4 separate regions of the Homo sapiens genome follow, and regions 1, 2 and 4 are each linked to region 3. Evidence: promoter capture Hi-C in 16 types of primary human blood cells and fetal thymus (Javierre and others, 2016). All regions are on one chromosome and are shown on one strand. Each heading gives the region's core, a stretch centred on a gene start or on the middle of the fragment in contact. The rest is flanking DNA. Distances are from core to core; before and after follow the strand shown. Region 1 overlaps PRKCA (protein kinase C alpha). Region 2 overlaps PRKCA (protein kinase C alpha). Region 3 holds the start of PRKCA (protein kinase C alpha). Region 4 overlaps PRKCA (protein kinase C alpha).

Region 1 (3,527 bases), core at 835-3,334, 350 kb after region 3:
AATGGGCTGATGCTGTCCTTGGAATCCCTGCCCTTATCTGACAGCCAGGGCCCCTCTGACTGGGCACTGATGCTCTCTGCCCAGAGGAAGATGGTGTTCCTCGGGGGCCATGAGACCCCTCTGCAACATCACAGCTTTGCTCTTGTTTCTCTTTCCTACTAAGGCTTCCACATTGTCAAAACCATGTATGGGGGGAGCAGATTTTGCAGCCGAGGGGAAAATTACCATAAAACCTAGTCTCCGTAGGTGGTAAGGGATCAAGGAGCATAAAGTAGAATGCCTATGGCTAAACATGTCCATGCTTTTCTTACCTTTTCCTTTATTTCCAAAGCTACTGCTGTTGGCAGTAGAATAGACATCACAGGTGAATATTCAGTTTAATTATGGGTTTACATGTGGCTACCTTATGGCTCGCTGTAAGGCAAGAATGCCTGAAATGTTTAGCTGGCATTCTTTGTGTTTCTAGATAAAGCAAAACATGTGCTATGCATGCTGGACACGCCCCGTGCCGTCTTCTGTAATAAAAGCAGCAACCATATGGTACTGCCGGAACCTTCCAGTATCTCCTATAAACCTCAAGAGCCTTGCAGATCTAAAACTGCATAGAGAGCACAGATGCTCTGGCTGGGGTGGCACAGGTACACAGGTGGAAGACAAAGGTCAGGCCTTATCGTGCTAGAGCTTACATCAGGCTAATTCCTCTACCATTGCCAAAAGTTGAACTTGACTCACAATTGTAGAGTCAGCTTAAGGAACAAGACCTTTCACTGGGTTGGATGTCGACTTTTTGCATGTGAAAGCCAGCCAGTATTGCTTATGCCAACTCTCTGGGCTAAGTCCCTTGAGAATTAGTTTAAAAATTTTTGTAGAGCTATAGCTCCACTCTAGGAATGTGAATTCAGCAAGTTTAATTAATAATAATAATAATAATGTCTTATTCCATTCAGGCTGCTATCACAAAATACCTTAGACTGGGTTATTTATAAATAATGGGAATTGATGTATCACAATTCTGGAAGCTGGGAAGTACAAGATCGAGGCCCCAGCAGATTCAGTGTCTGGTGAAGGCTCCGTCTCTGCTTCATAGATGGCACTTCTCACTGTGTCCTCACATGGCAGAAGGAGGGCAGGCTGTGTCCTCACATGGTGCAAGGAGCGAACTTGCTCCCTGTCATCTCTTTTATAAGGCTCTGCGTTTGGTTGAAGGTTATCCCGAAAGGATTACTTCCCAAAGGCCCTACCTCTTAATACTATCACACCGGGAATCCAATCTGAAGATATGAATTCAGACCACAGCAAATAGTAGCAGCAGCTCACAGCTATTCAGTGCTTCCTCCACAGGACCGCTTTCTAAGTACTTTATGTACTAACTTTTATTCAAATCTGTGAAGAAGTTGACTTTATTATCCTTACGTTATAGATGAAGAAACGGAGATACAAGGAAATGAAGTGACTCACCCAGAGTCACACAGATGGTAAATTGGATGGCTAAATATTTAAATGGCACATGCGGAGAGAAGATATTTTGATGACAGTTTCCATAAGAATTGGAATCTATTTTTAAAGTACAGTTATGTGTGTGAAGGGAATCCAATGTTAAGTATGGAAAGTCAGGCTCAAGGAAATAACTAATTAGTAATTACATCTTTAACATTTTTAATTTAAAGTAATTTAAGATTTTCAGAAAAGTTGCACACACAGTACAGAGTTCTCGTACACCCTTCACCCAGCAACCCCCGATGTTAATGCCCTTGTATAACTATAGTACCTGATAAATTTATGAAAAATAAGTGCTTACAGCCAGGTGCAGTGTCTCACACCTGTAATCCCAGCACTTTGGGAGGCCGAGGCGGGTGGATCGCTTGAGGTCAGGAGCTTGAGACCAGCCTGGCCAACATGGTAAAACCCCATCTCTACTAAAAATACAAAAAATTAGCCAAGTATGGTGGCATGCGCATGTAGTCCCAGGTACTCAGGAGGAGGCTGAGGCAGGATAATCGGTTGAACCCAGGAGGTGGAGGTTGCAATGAGCCCGAGATTGTGCCACTGCGTTCCAGCCTGGGCGACAGAGCGAGAGTCCATCTCAAAAAAAAAAAAAAAGAAAGAAAGAAAAAATAGGTACCCGCATTAGTTACTAGGAATTTTTTTAAAGAGCCAAATAGAAGACATCAGACTCATCTTATTTCAGTATAAAAGGACCACAAGTGGTACTAAGCAGAGCCCCCTTGGGGCAGTGCTTGCCAATGATGGGTGGCACCCCCATGCCCATTATCTGCCTGCACCTTCTCCCAACCAAATAGTTCAGGCATGGGTTTGTCTTGAGAAATGTTTTCATACCAATAGCTACCATTTATTGAGTGCTTGCTCTATATTTATTGTTCATAGGACTGGACCTTTATGCTCAGCATTTTATATTCATTGCTTCATTGACTCCCCAACCAATCCCATGAAGTAAATACTATTATTATCCTCCTTCTTGAAATGAGCAAAGGAGCTGAGAGAAAGGAAGGAAATGGCTCCAAGTTACAAGGTGGAAAGTGATGTAGTTGGGGCCGCAGCCCGGGCCTGGCTTCCACACTCTTGCTTTCAGTGCATAGGCTATGAATGTTCCAAGTCTCTCTTATTAATTAGAGTCTCCTTTGGAACAAACAATTAACCCATAAATATTTGCTGAACCCACAATCAGCACCCCACAAAGTTTTTTGAGGTCACGGAAGGTCCAAACATGGGACTTAAAACCAGGGGAGAAAAGAGTAACACAAGAAGAGAACAAAGAACAACCCATATCCAAGTAAAATTAAATACCAAGTACATGGTGATGAAATAGCACACCCTTGGGAGGTACTGAGGGTGGGGAAGGGGACAGAGAGGGAAGGACCCTGTGGAGAAGCAGCCGACTGAATACTGTAGGTATTTGAGAGACAGAGAGGGAAGAGAGCTCCGATTGAGAGAGTCAGAGGGCTGTGGGAATTAGCCTGGTGGTGGCTTTCATGAGAACACAAATATAAACCATAAGCCATCACATGCAGAGTTTATGGTCCAGATGCGAGTGATTTCTCAGAAAATGCACTTAAACCTGAACCCTGAGCAGCTGTGTTAATTGCTAGGTTAGTTCAAACTGTGTCTTACCTATGTAGAATCACTCAGGTTGAAGATAATTCCCAAAGTAACGTAGAAACTCCCGACAGGAGCTCTGCTTCAGGATGGAAACCTCCGTTTGCAGTCAGAGATGAGTTTTCTTTCTAGCTTGGTGGGGTATTTATGGGAAAGCCCCGAGCTTTGGTGGTGTATTTTTATTTTTTGCCTTTGGGCGGTGGTGCTGATATTATCAGAATGGTGTCGGGGTTTTTTTTTCTTCTTCTGATAGGAGATTGTAATAGGTTTTCTACACTCTAGTGTGTTTTGTAAATTCGGTTTATAGGAGTAGTAAAAAAAAAATCCCTCATGGGAACCAATTTTCAATTTAATCTTGTAAGTAAATGGAAAAAATATCGGGTGCTTTAGAGCTGTTTCAGGAGCACGTCTCT
Region 2 (3,151 bases), core at 126-2,625, 310 kb after region 3:
TTATGTCTTGATATTGATCCCAAAGAATGTGCGTCAAACTAAGAAAGTTAATTTTCATGTAGCAACATCTGGTTCCTTAGCCAATTCAGGGAACTCTTGAGTGCTTATGCTCAGAGCTTTTGCTGCTGTTTCTAGATTCCACCCTCTGTTAGCTTCTCACAAGCAGTCCGGTATTTGGTAGAGTGTGGGGGGCCGGGGGCTCATGAAGTCAGATTCCAACGTGCAGGGTTTGTTTGAGATGCCTGTAGGATCAACCAGGTTTCACCTCTGGATGTATGTTTAATTCAGTGGACGTTGTCATTTTGATGGCACATACCCTTCAGTAAAAAGAGGTTAAAAGTATTCTAAAATGAGGTGGTGGATTATCTGTTTGGGTAGCTACATGGTCTCTGAAGTCTCTTCCATTTTAAGATAAAATTGCCAAAGACAGTTTTTACAAGTTTGGAACTTTCTGAGTGGGTGATACGCATTAGGGTTTTGGTGGTGCTGATTATTGCATCCAGAGGTTGGCCCTGACTTCTGTCGTCTGCTGGTCTTGGAATACATTGAAGCACACCGATTGGAGCACACCGACTGAAGCACACCGATTGGAGCACACCGATTGGAGCACACTGACTGAAGCACACTGATTGGAGCACACCGATTGGAGCACACCAATTGGCTTTTGCTTTTGGAGCTTGGTTATTGTGCAGTGTTCCCACTTACCTAATCATCACTTTGTTGGTGGTGGAGTGGAGGGCCTCACTCTGGTTCCAAGCAAGTCATTAGAATGATCTACAATTTGCAGTTCTAAAATCAGGAAAACTTGGGGTTTCTCCAAAGCCTGCATTAAACAGAACTTTTTCTTTCTTGAAGGTCCAGATCCATACTTAAATTTTACTTAAATTTTAATGAGTAATATTTTCCCATCAGTGGCCTAACGCACTATAAATTATGTATGCTGCACATTAAATTCATTTTTATTTTTTCACAAACTGGACTTAATGGCATTTGTTGTTTTGTATACCCTATACGATAGAAATTTGTTGCTGAAAAGGAATTCAGGGGTCCTCCAGATCACTGGTTTCCAAACCTGACTCTTTAGGAAGAAAACAAACAAAAATCCTCCAGTTTCGTTATGGACGTGATGAATGAGACACCCACGGAGTATGGCCCAGGAATCTGTTCTCATAAAGGTCTCCAGGAAGGTTGGGAAGGAGGAGGGAAGAGCGTAGAGCTATTCTCCCTGAAAAGAAATAGGCCAAGAGTTGATTGTTGTGTTAGCTGGTAATGGGTACTTAGGGATCCATTATTCTCTCTGCTCTTTGCATGTATTTGAAATTTTCCATAATGAAAAGACTTTTAAAAAAGATTAAATAACAGCTTCCCAGGTGATCCTGAAAATCAGCCAGGTTTGGGCAGCACAATCAATCCGCCTCTCCCCCTTAACAGGTGAGAACAGGAAGGCGAACGAGGCCATGCAGTTTGCGTGAATGAAGAACTCATATAGGATCTAGAACTCCTGTTTCTGCCCCATAGGCCTAAGCCCTTAACTCCTCATGGCCTCCTCAGACTAATCATTTTGCTGACCTTCTTAGCATTTTAAAAGAGAATTAATAAATCTGACTTGTATGATTCACTTACTTTTTTTTAAACACAGAGGAGTGTTGAGTGTTTTTGAGATGTTTTTCTTTCTTCACACATTTTTCTAAGATCCTTTTAAACCCATTCCATTGGACTTCAAGGTAGCTATTGGCTTTTCAAACATAGGTTACGGGGCTACTACTTTGCCGCTAGTTAGTGTGTGAGGCCACTGGTAAATGAATGAATGAATGAGCAGTAAAGGTGCTGAAAAGTGTAATGCGTGTCTATATGAAGCAGTGTCTATTGAGCAAACCGGAGAGACCAGCTCCATCCTGGAAAATTAAAACAATGGTACTGTGACTTTGCCTATTGCCAATCATCGATCAGTCCTGTCGGTCTGACTTAACCTTCTAAAGCTCTTTACCACAGTGTATAGATAAGTTGCCTGTCATGTAAATATATCTTATTGATTTTGTCAGGCAGCTGGCCAGTTTTCTTAAAAATGTGTCAAATTGTCTGAATGATTTGACCAGAAACCCCGAGAGTCAACGTGAGGAGGAAAGAAAGAGGAAGGGAACGGGGAAAAAAAGGGAAGGAAAAAGACAAATACCACCTAATTGAGACTAAAGGAATGATCACTGGGGCTACCATGGCTTTTGTTTGGTTTTGGCAAGGCTTTATTTTATTTTTTTTTTACTGTCAGTGAAAACAAGAATTTGTATTGCAGGAAAAACAAACTAACAAGTGTTTTTTCCTACTGTACTCTCAACACAAAGTGCTTCTGGTCACCAAAATGTGGAGAGATGTTGCCCCCCACCCACACACAAAGCAACTCTCCAGCAGACACCAACCGGGTGTCCTATAGTTCAGTGTAATTCTGAGATTATCTACCTGGAGATAGCATCAGGTCCGACAAGATAAGGGTTCAGTCCCACAACACTGCCCCCCACCATCCCTGCTTCAGACACTACTCATAAGTACAGGTTACCCATAGCTGATGTCCAATTTAGCTACAAATTGACCCCCTTTTAGGGTTCTCTTGTTTGCTAGGACAGCTCGCAGAACTCAGGAATGCACGTTACTTACATTTACCAGTTTATTATCAAGGATATTACAAAGGATACAAATGAACAGCCAGGTGGAGGAGATGCACAGGGCAAGGGATGTGAGGAGGGGCCCAGAGCTTCCATGGCCTCCCCGGACCCACCATCAACAGAGCTTTCTGAACCCTGAAGTCCAGAGACTTTTATGGAGGCCTTCTCACACAGGCATGACTGATGATTCACTCCATCTCCAGACCCTCACCCCTTCCTGGAGACTGGGGAGCAGTAGAGCTAAAAGTTTCAAGCTTCTAGTCATGGCTTGGTCTTTCCAGTGACCAGCCTGTATCCAGGAACCCACCCAGAGTCACCCCATGATAACAAAAGACACTCCCATCACCCAGGAAATTCCAAGGGATTAGCTCTGTTTCAGGATGTTGGAAATGAGTGCTTGAGTCGCAAAGGAAATAACACTCGAACAGAAAATATCTCAGCAAAGCAAATTTACTTCTGCAGAAGGGTGCTTCCTGTTTCAGTCACGATCGCAA
Region 3 (3,046 bases), core at 261-2,760:
GACGGCCAGTCAGGAGAGCTTCCATTTGTTAAAAATATAAAGGACATTCCTATCATCAAGCATCACAATTAGGCAATCTCAAAGAAAACAATATTAGCTCTACTTGGCCTATGTTACATGCTCTAAGAAAGTATTTTAGAAAAGTTTTTTTTTTCAACATAAATTTATTGAAGGATCAAACGTGTTCTCTTTCTTGGTCTCTTTAGCTCGTAAAGTCGTTTTGGGGATTTCGTGAATCTGGCAAATAAAACAAAACACCAATGAAACGCTGAGAAATGATTATTTCCCTTATGTATTTTAGCGGCCTCCAGGCAGACCTGATAAATATTCAGCGAGTGATTAGCTGGTGCATCCCCACCTGCGTCCTTTGCATAGCCATGCCCGCTACTCTTTCACAGGCAGTTTTACTTGGTAAGTTACAAACGTACTGGCTGCACTCTGCACCTGACAGTATTGCAGTAATTAGCTTGGGATGCAAAATGATTTCTAAATTAAGGTCCTGGACTTGTAAAATCAAGAAAGCCTGATAATCAACATCGTCGCTCTGGTGGCCATTGAATAACGGGATAAATACCTAAGACAAGTCCTTTAACCATCCCACGTGGTGATAAATGCCCGACGTACAAATTAAAAGTCTCTACCACACGCAGGTGAAATAAGGTATAGGTCAAGAAGAGAAGGTAGGGGAAAGGGTCAATGCTTAATTATTTAAAAATCGCTCTCTTCCTCCTGTAGGAAGGTCTAGGGGCTAGGTCTTTTAGTGCACACGTGATGAAAGTGACATTTTGGCCAGGTGAAACCTCAAGCTGGTACAGGCAGCTAAAACACGGGCGTCGTGCCCTGGAGACACCGGGGGTCCTGAGGATGGGGAAGGGGCTCCCTGCTGCGGGTGCTGAGGGGTTAGGAGGTGAGCACCGGGCGGGAGGCTCCGGGGCAGGGGCTGCGCGTGGAGCCCACTCCCGGACGCGGGCTCCTCTCGGCCCGGCACGGGTGGCGCAGGACTCCGAGCCCGTCGACAAGAGAGAGAGCGGGAGTGGGAGAAGGAAGACCGGGAGAGGAGGAGGCCGGGCGGCAAGAGCGGAAGAAGAGGAGGAGAACTGAGGCGGAGGAGGGCGAGAGGGAGGAGAGCCGGGCGCAGGAAGGGGAGGAAAGAAAAAGGCGGCGGAGGAGCGCGGACCCGCCACTCCCGGCCTCCTCCCCCGCATCCCCACTCGGGCCGGCCCTCCCCCGGCCGCCGCCGCCGCCGCCGCCGCCGCCGCCGCCGCCGCCGCCGCCTCCCCTTGCCCAGTGTTCCCAGCACCGCAAGGCACTCGCTGCCTCCTCCGCACTCGGTCCGGTCCGCTCAGCGCCGCCGCCGCCGCACCCTCGCCGCACCCCCGCGCGCGCCCGGCCCGCGCGCCCCCGCCGCTCGTCCTCGCGGCCTCGCGCTCGGGGCATGCGCGGTGGGCGGTGCCGCTCCGGGCCGCCTCTGCCGCCGCGAGTAGGAAGCGCGAGCGCCGGGCACCGGGCTGTCAGTGAGCCTGGGGCCAGCGGGCGAGCCAGCGGCTCCGGCTCCCGCTCCCGCTCCGCGCAGCACCAGCCCGACTCTCCCCGGCCCCCGCCGCGCCCCCTCGCCGCGACCTCGGCCACCGGCCCGCGCCCCGCGCCCGGGGTCGCCCCGAGCCCGCACCTCTCCCCCGCCGCCCCCGCCCACCCGGCCCTCCGCGGCCGCAGCTCCCCGGCGGAGGCAAGAGGTGGTTGGGGGGGACCATGGCTGACGTTTTCCCGGGCAACGACTCCACGGCGTCTCAGGACGTGGCCAACCGCTTCGCCCGCAAAGGGGCGCTGAGGCAGAAGAACGTGCACGAGGTGAAGGACCACAAATTCATCGCGCGCTTCTTCAAGCAGCCCACCTTCTGCAGCCACTGCACCGACTTCATCTGGTAGGTGCCGGGCCGGGCACTCCTGCCCCGCTCCTCCCCGCCTCCGGGTCCCGGCACCCGGCGCTCCGGCGCGTCCGCCCCGGGGCTGGCTCACTCCGATAACTTGGAACCGGCGGGAGTCCGAACTCTTCGCCCGGAGTGACACGCGCGCCCGGCCCTGACACCGGCGGGCAGGACTCCCGGGACGTCGCCGTCCCGCCACACACACCCCCTGGCGCGAGAGGGAGGCTGGCCCCGTACGGTGGCGAAGGGGATCCCTCTCCGGGCCGGGCCCCTCACCTCCCCGGGCGCGCCCACCCGCACGCACCCAGCGGAGCGGCCGCTTGCCGGGGTGTGAGCCCAGGGGACAGGGGAGGAGGAGAGGCCCTAAGGGGGCAAAGGTTCCCGGAGAAACGCGCCCCGGAGTAACGGGGGAGCGGCGGCGATTGCACTGCGCGCGGTCCAAGTTGCTGGCGAGCCAGGCTGGGCGCGTTCGGGGTGGGGGGGTTGTGTTTGTGCTTCCCATCGGGCTGGACTGCGCTGGCATCTTGGGCCCCTGCCTACTGTAGGCTGCATCTACTGGGCACGGAGAGACTGACTTTTCTGAGTGAGCAGAGAGAGAGAGAGCAAACTGTTGAAAGCTTGCAGTGGGGGAGGGGGAGTTCTAGCAGGCAAATGGCACAAGGGCAGAGGGACTCATTTAAAATAGACCCTGTCGGCCAGGCGCGGTGGCTCACGCCTGTAATCCCAGCACTTTGGGAGGCCGAGGCAGGCGGATCACCTAAGGTCAGTAGTTCGAGACCAGCCTGGCAAACATGGTGAAACCCCGTCTACTAAAAATACAAAATTAGCCGGGCGTGGTGGCACACGCCTGTAATCCCAGCTACTCGGGAGGCTGAGACGGGAGACTCGCTTGAACCCGGGAGGCGGAGGCTGCAGTGAGCCGAGATCGGGCCACTGCACTCCAGCCTGGGTGAGACAGAGCGAGATTCCGTCTCAAAAAAAATGAAACAGACCCTGTCAACTCGAGATTAGACCTGTAACCCTGTTGATGAGGGCAGAGGCCTTATTTAAGAAAAATAATATAAGGGCCAGAGGTCAGAGATCAGGTAATCGCCAATGAATTCAGGCATTCTTAACTCGGA
Region 4 (3,253 bases), core at 633-3,132, 290 kb after region 3:
CACAATGTCTGTCCTCCTGGGATAGAATATGAACAGAATCCAGGTCTGGGGCCATGGATGTTGAACGTGATAGTATGTTTCCTGGTATCACTAAGGTCTGATCTCTTCCCGTTTTCCTACAGTTCTATGAACATTTCTTTCTAACACAATGTTTTCTTAGGGCTAATTTTAAGTTATTTTTTGGGGACTATCATCCCTTATATCCTTCTCCTTCCAAGGTATCCCAAAGTTGATGTGCAGTGTTACTGTACACTTTTTCAGCATGTGCAAATCTGTCTAGCTTATAATCTAGCATCATTTTGTGTTGTTTTACATTTTATATAAATTGTATTACACTCTACAGATTCGTTTGAAACTTGTTTTCTGTCCAACCTGATAGATTTGAGATTTATCCATATTGATTTATGTAGATCTAGTTCATTCATTTTACTTGTTATATATGATGACAGTAATTGGTTCGTTTTCCTAATGGAGGACAGCTAGATTGCTTCCACATTTCTGCTCTTTTAAACAGATATATATATAGATAGATAGACAGATAGATAGATAGATTGATTGATTAGATAGATATAGATATATAGATATATATAACATATATGTGTGTGTATATATACATATATACGTATATGTGTGTGTATATGTATACATATATACGTATATGTGTGTATATGTATACATATATACGTATATGTGTGTATATGTATACATATATACGTATATGTGTGTATATGTATACATATATACGTATATGTGTGTGTATATGTATACATATATACGTATATGTGTGTATCTACATATACATATATACATATGTATGTGTGTGTGTGTGTGTGTGTGTGTGTATATATATATATATATATATATATATATATATATATCCTGCAGTAGCTCTTCTTGTGAGATTCTCCTATGTGAGAATTCCCCTAGGTCTGGGGTGTACTCAGAAGGGGAACTGCCAGTCATATGTATCTTTAACTTTACTAGCTTTGGCAACTTGCTCTGCAAAGTGTCTGAACCAATTTACATTCCACCAGCAGTGTTGGAGGATTCTACTTCCTCAAATTCTTACCAATAAATGCTTTTATCAGGTTGACCAAAAAGATTCCATGTGGCTGGGGTGAAAGAGCAGGTGTTTGCCTCTCTGTGATTGCTGGGAAGGTTAAACACCTTTTCATAGGTTGATTAGCCATCAGTGTTGCTTCTTCTGTGAATTGTTTGTTTATATCTCTAGCACCTTTTTCCTCCTTCCTGTTTTGGGGCATGAGGAAGAGAGGTGATGCTTTACTCACTGATTGGTAGAAATTCCTTACATATTCTGGATACTAATTTTTTGTTGATATAAGTTGCAAATTATCTTCTGCTGGGATTTGACATTTTCATAAAATATTTTGATGAAAGAAAAATGAGAAATAGGGAAGAGCATTCAACCTTTAATAGAAGCATCTGTAAAAGGGTCTATTTGTTCTGCTCCTGAGACAAGTTGGTGGTGTGTTAAACTAATGAATCATTACAGTTCCCATATATGCAGTTATCATTACATGAGCCTTTTTTATTTCTTTCTGAGGTTTTATTTTGCTTTGCTTTTTTTTTTTTTTTTTTTTTTTTTTTGAGAGTTTCGCTTTGTTGCCCAGGCTGGAGTGCAGTGGCACCATGTCAGCTCACTGCAACCTCTGCCTCCCAGGTTCAAGCAATTCTAGTGCCCTAGCCTCCTGAGTAACTGGGATTACAGGCACCCACCACCATGCTCGGCTGATTTTTTGCATTTTTGTAGAGACAGGGTATCACCATGTTGCCCAGGCTGATCTCGAACTACTGATCTCAGGTAATCCACCTGTCTCAGTCTCCCAAAGTGCTAGGATTACAGACATGAGCCACTGCACTGGTCTTGCTTTGCCTTTTTAAGGCATCACCTTTAGGGACTTGCCTTTGTTCTTGATGGTTCTCCAGGGTCACTTGTTTGAGACTTTAGTAACAAGTTGCTGATACCTTAGGTAATGATACTTACAATTACCTAAGTCCCAGATGAACGTGAAGTCTGCCCACTTCCAGGTCATGGGATCTTAAGTTCTTATGACCCATAAAAGACTTAGACTAGCTTCTTGACACCTACCAGCTCATGGGTGAGTAGCTCCCATCCTCCCAAACTAGAAGCAATTCATTTCATTACAAACCCACCAAAAAGCACAATTCTGTCCACCAAGAGATAACGGCTGTTAGTACCCTGAAATATATCCTGTTAAACTTTTTCTAATACATATGAGTATGTGAATATCATATAACTAAAGTGATCATAAAATACTTATTTTAGATTGTAGGTTTTTTTACACAATACGTGTCTCAGAAGTCTTCCTAGGTTAATGCATACACTCCTACAGTGGCAGCTTTAATGGCTGTGTAGTATTCCATTGTTATCTTGAAGATTTTAAAACATCTTTTTTGTTGGATATGTGGCTGATTTCCATTTTTTTACTATAAGGAGCAATCTTTAAGTGAACCTTCTTGTACATGGATGTTTGTGAACATCCAAAATCTAAGACCTGGAATTGCAGGGTGAAAGTTACACTGATCTCTGCGACTTTTGTTGTATACCCTACAGGTGTTTAGCATAATGGGGAGGGGCAGTTGTCTGGGGCTCTCATTTGGAGGAAACTTACTGAGCATGAATTGGGGATACGAAGATGATAAGATGATCTCACTCCCTTGTGTCAGGGGCTCATGGTCTAGGGCAGCAGTCTTCAACCTTTTTGGTGCAGGGACTGGTTTCATGGAAGACAATTTTTCCATGGACCCGGTTGTGGTGTGGTTTCAGGATGAAACTTTCCACCTCAGATCATTAGGCATTAGATTCTCAGAAGGAGGGCATAGCCTAGATCTCTCAATGTGCAGTTCACAATAGGGTTTGTGCTCCTATGAGAATCTCATGCCGCCGGTGATCTGACGGTAGGCAGAGCTCAGGCGGTAATGCTTGCTTGCCCGCCGCTCACCTCCTGCTGTGCACCCCAGTTCCTAACAGGCCATGGACAGGCACCGGTCCATGGCCTGGGGGTTGGGGGCCATACACTGGCAGCTGGGCAGGAGGCAGCAGGCTCAGGACATGAGGAAACTGACCCTAGGAGGGAGGAGGTTGGTCTCCAGTTTCAGGAGGTAGATGTCAACTGCCTGAAATTCTCTGGAGACAATACCCCTGGCTCCCCTCTCCACACATCAGCCCTCTGTCTGAATGATATAACATGATTCCCTTGACTAAAAGCAC

Evidence for each region. Contacts are between HindIII fragments. The CHiCAGO score rates a contact against its expected background, and 5 or more counts as called.
Region 1: a fragment that was not itself captured here is called in contact with the fragment with the promoter of PRKCA in region 3 in 1 of 17 cell types (endothelial precursors); the score reaches 6.1 in endothelial precursors.
Region 2: a contact is called between a fragment that was not itself captured here and the fragment with the promoter of PRKCA in region 3, in 1 of 17 cell types (endothelial precursors). The highest score is 7.6, in endothelial precursors.
Region 4: a fragment that was not itself captured here is called in contact with the fragment with the promoter of PRKCA in region 3 in 2 of 17 cell types (M1 macrophages and M2 macrophages); the score reaches 5.3 in M1 macrophages.

The regions. Positions count from the first base shown.
Region 1 is chr17:66,647,013-66,650,539 of GRCh38, forward strand. All of the region lies in intron 5 of PRKCA (protein kinase C alpha), which reads left to right. Among named protein-coding and RNA genes, the nearest start is that of MIR634, 140 kb to the right of the region's middle. The HindIII fragment of the contact is 4,812 bases long and covers 1-3,527 here.
Region 2 is chr17:66,607,545-66,610,695 of GRCh38, forward strand. The region is part of intron 3 of PRKCA (protein kinase C alpha); the gene reads left to right. Among named protein-coding and RNA genes, the nearest start is that of MIR634, 180 kb to the right of the region's middle. The HindIII fragment of the contact is 3,067 bases long and covers 1-2,909 here.
Region 3 is chr17:66,301,103-66,304,148 of GRCh38, forward strand. PRKCA (protein kinase C alpha) reads left to right here and starts at 1,511. Exons shown (of 17, transcript NM_002737.3): 1 at 1,511-1,922. The coding sequence starts at 1,750. RefSeq lists an enhancer at 2,305-2,806. The HindIII fragment of the contact is 2,886 bases long and covers 1-2,540 here.
Region 4 is chr17:66,587,055-66,590,307 of GRCh38, forward strand. The region is part of intron 3 of PRKCA (protein kinase C alpha); the gene reads left to right. Among named protein-coding and RNA genes, the nearest start is that of PRKCA-AS1, 170 kb to the left of the region's middle. The HindIII fragment of the contact is 4,365 bases long and covers 1-3,253 here.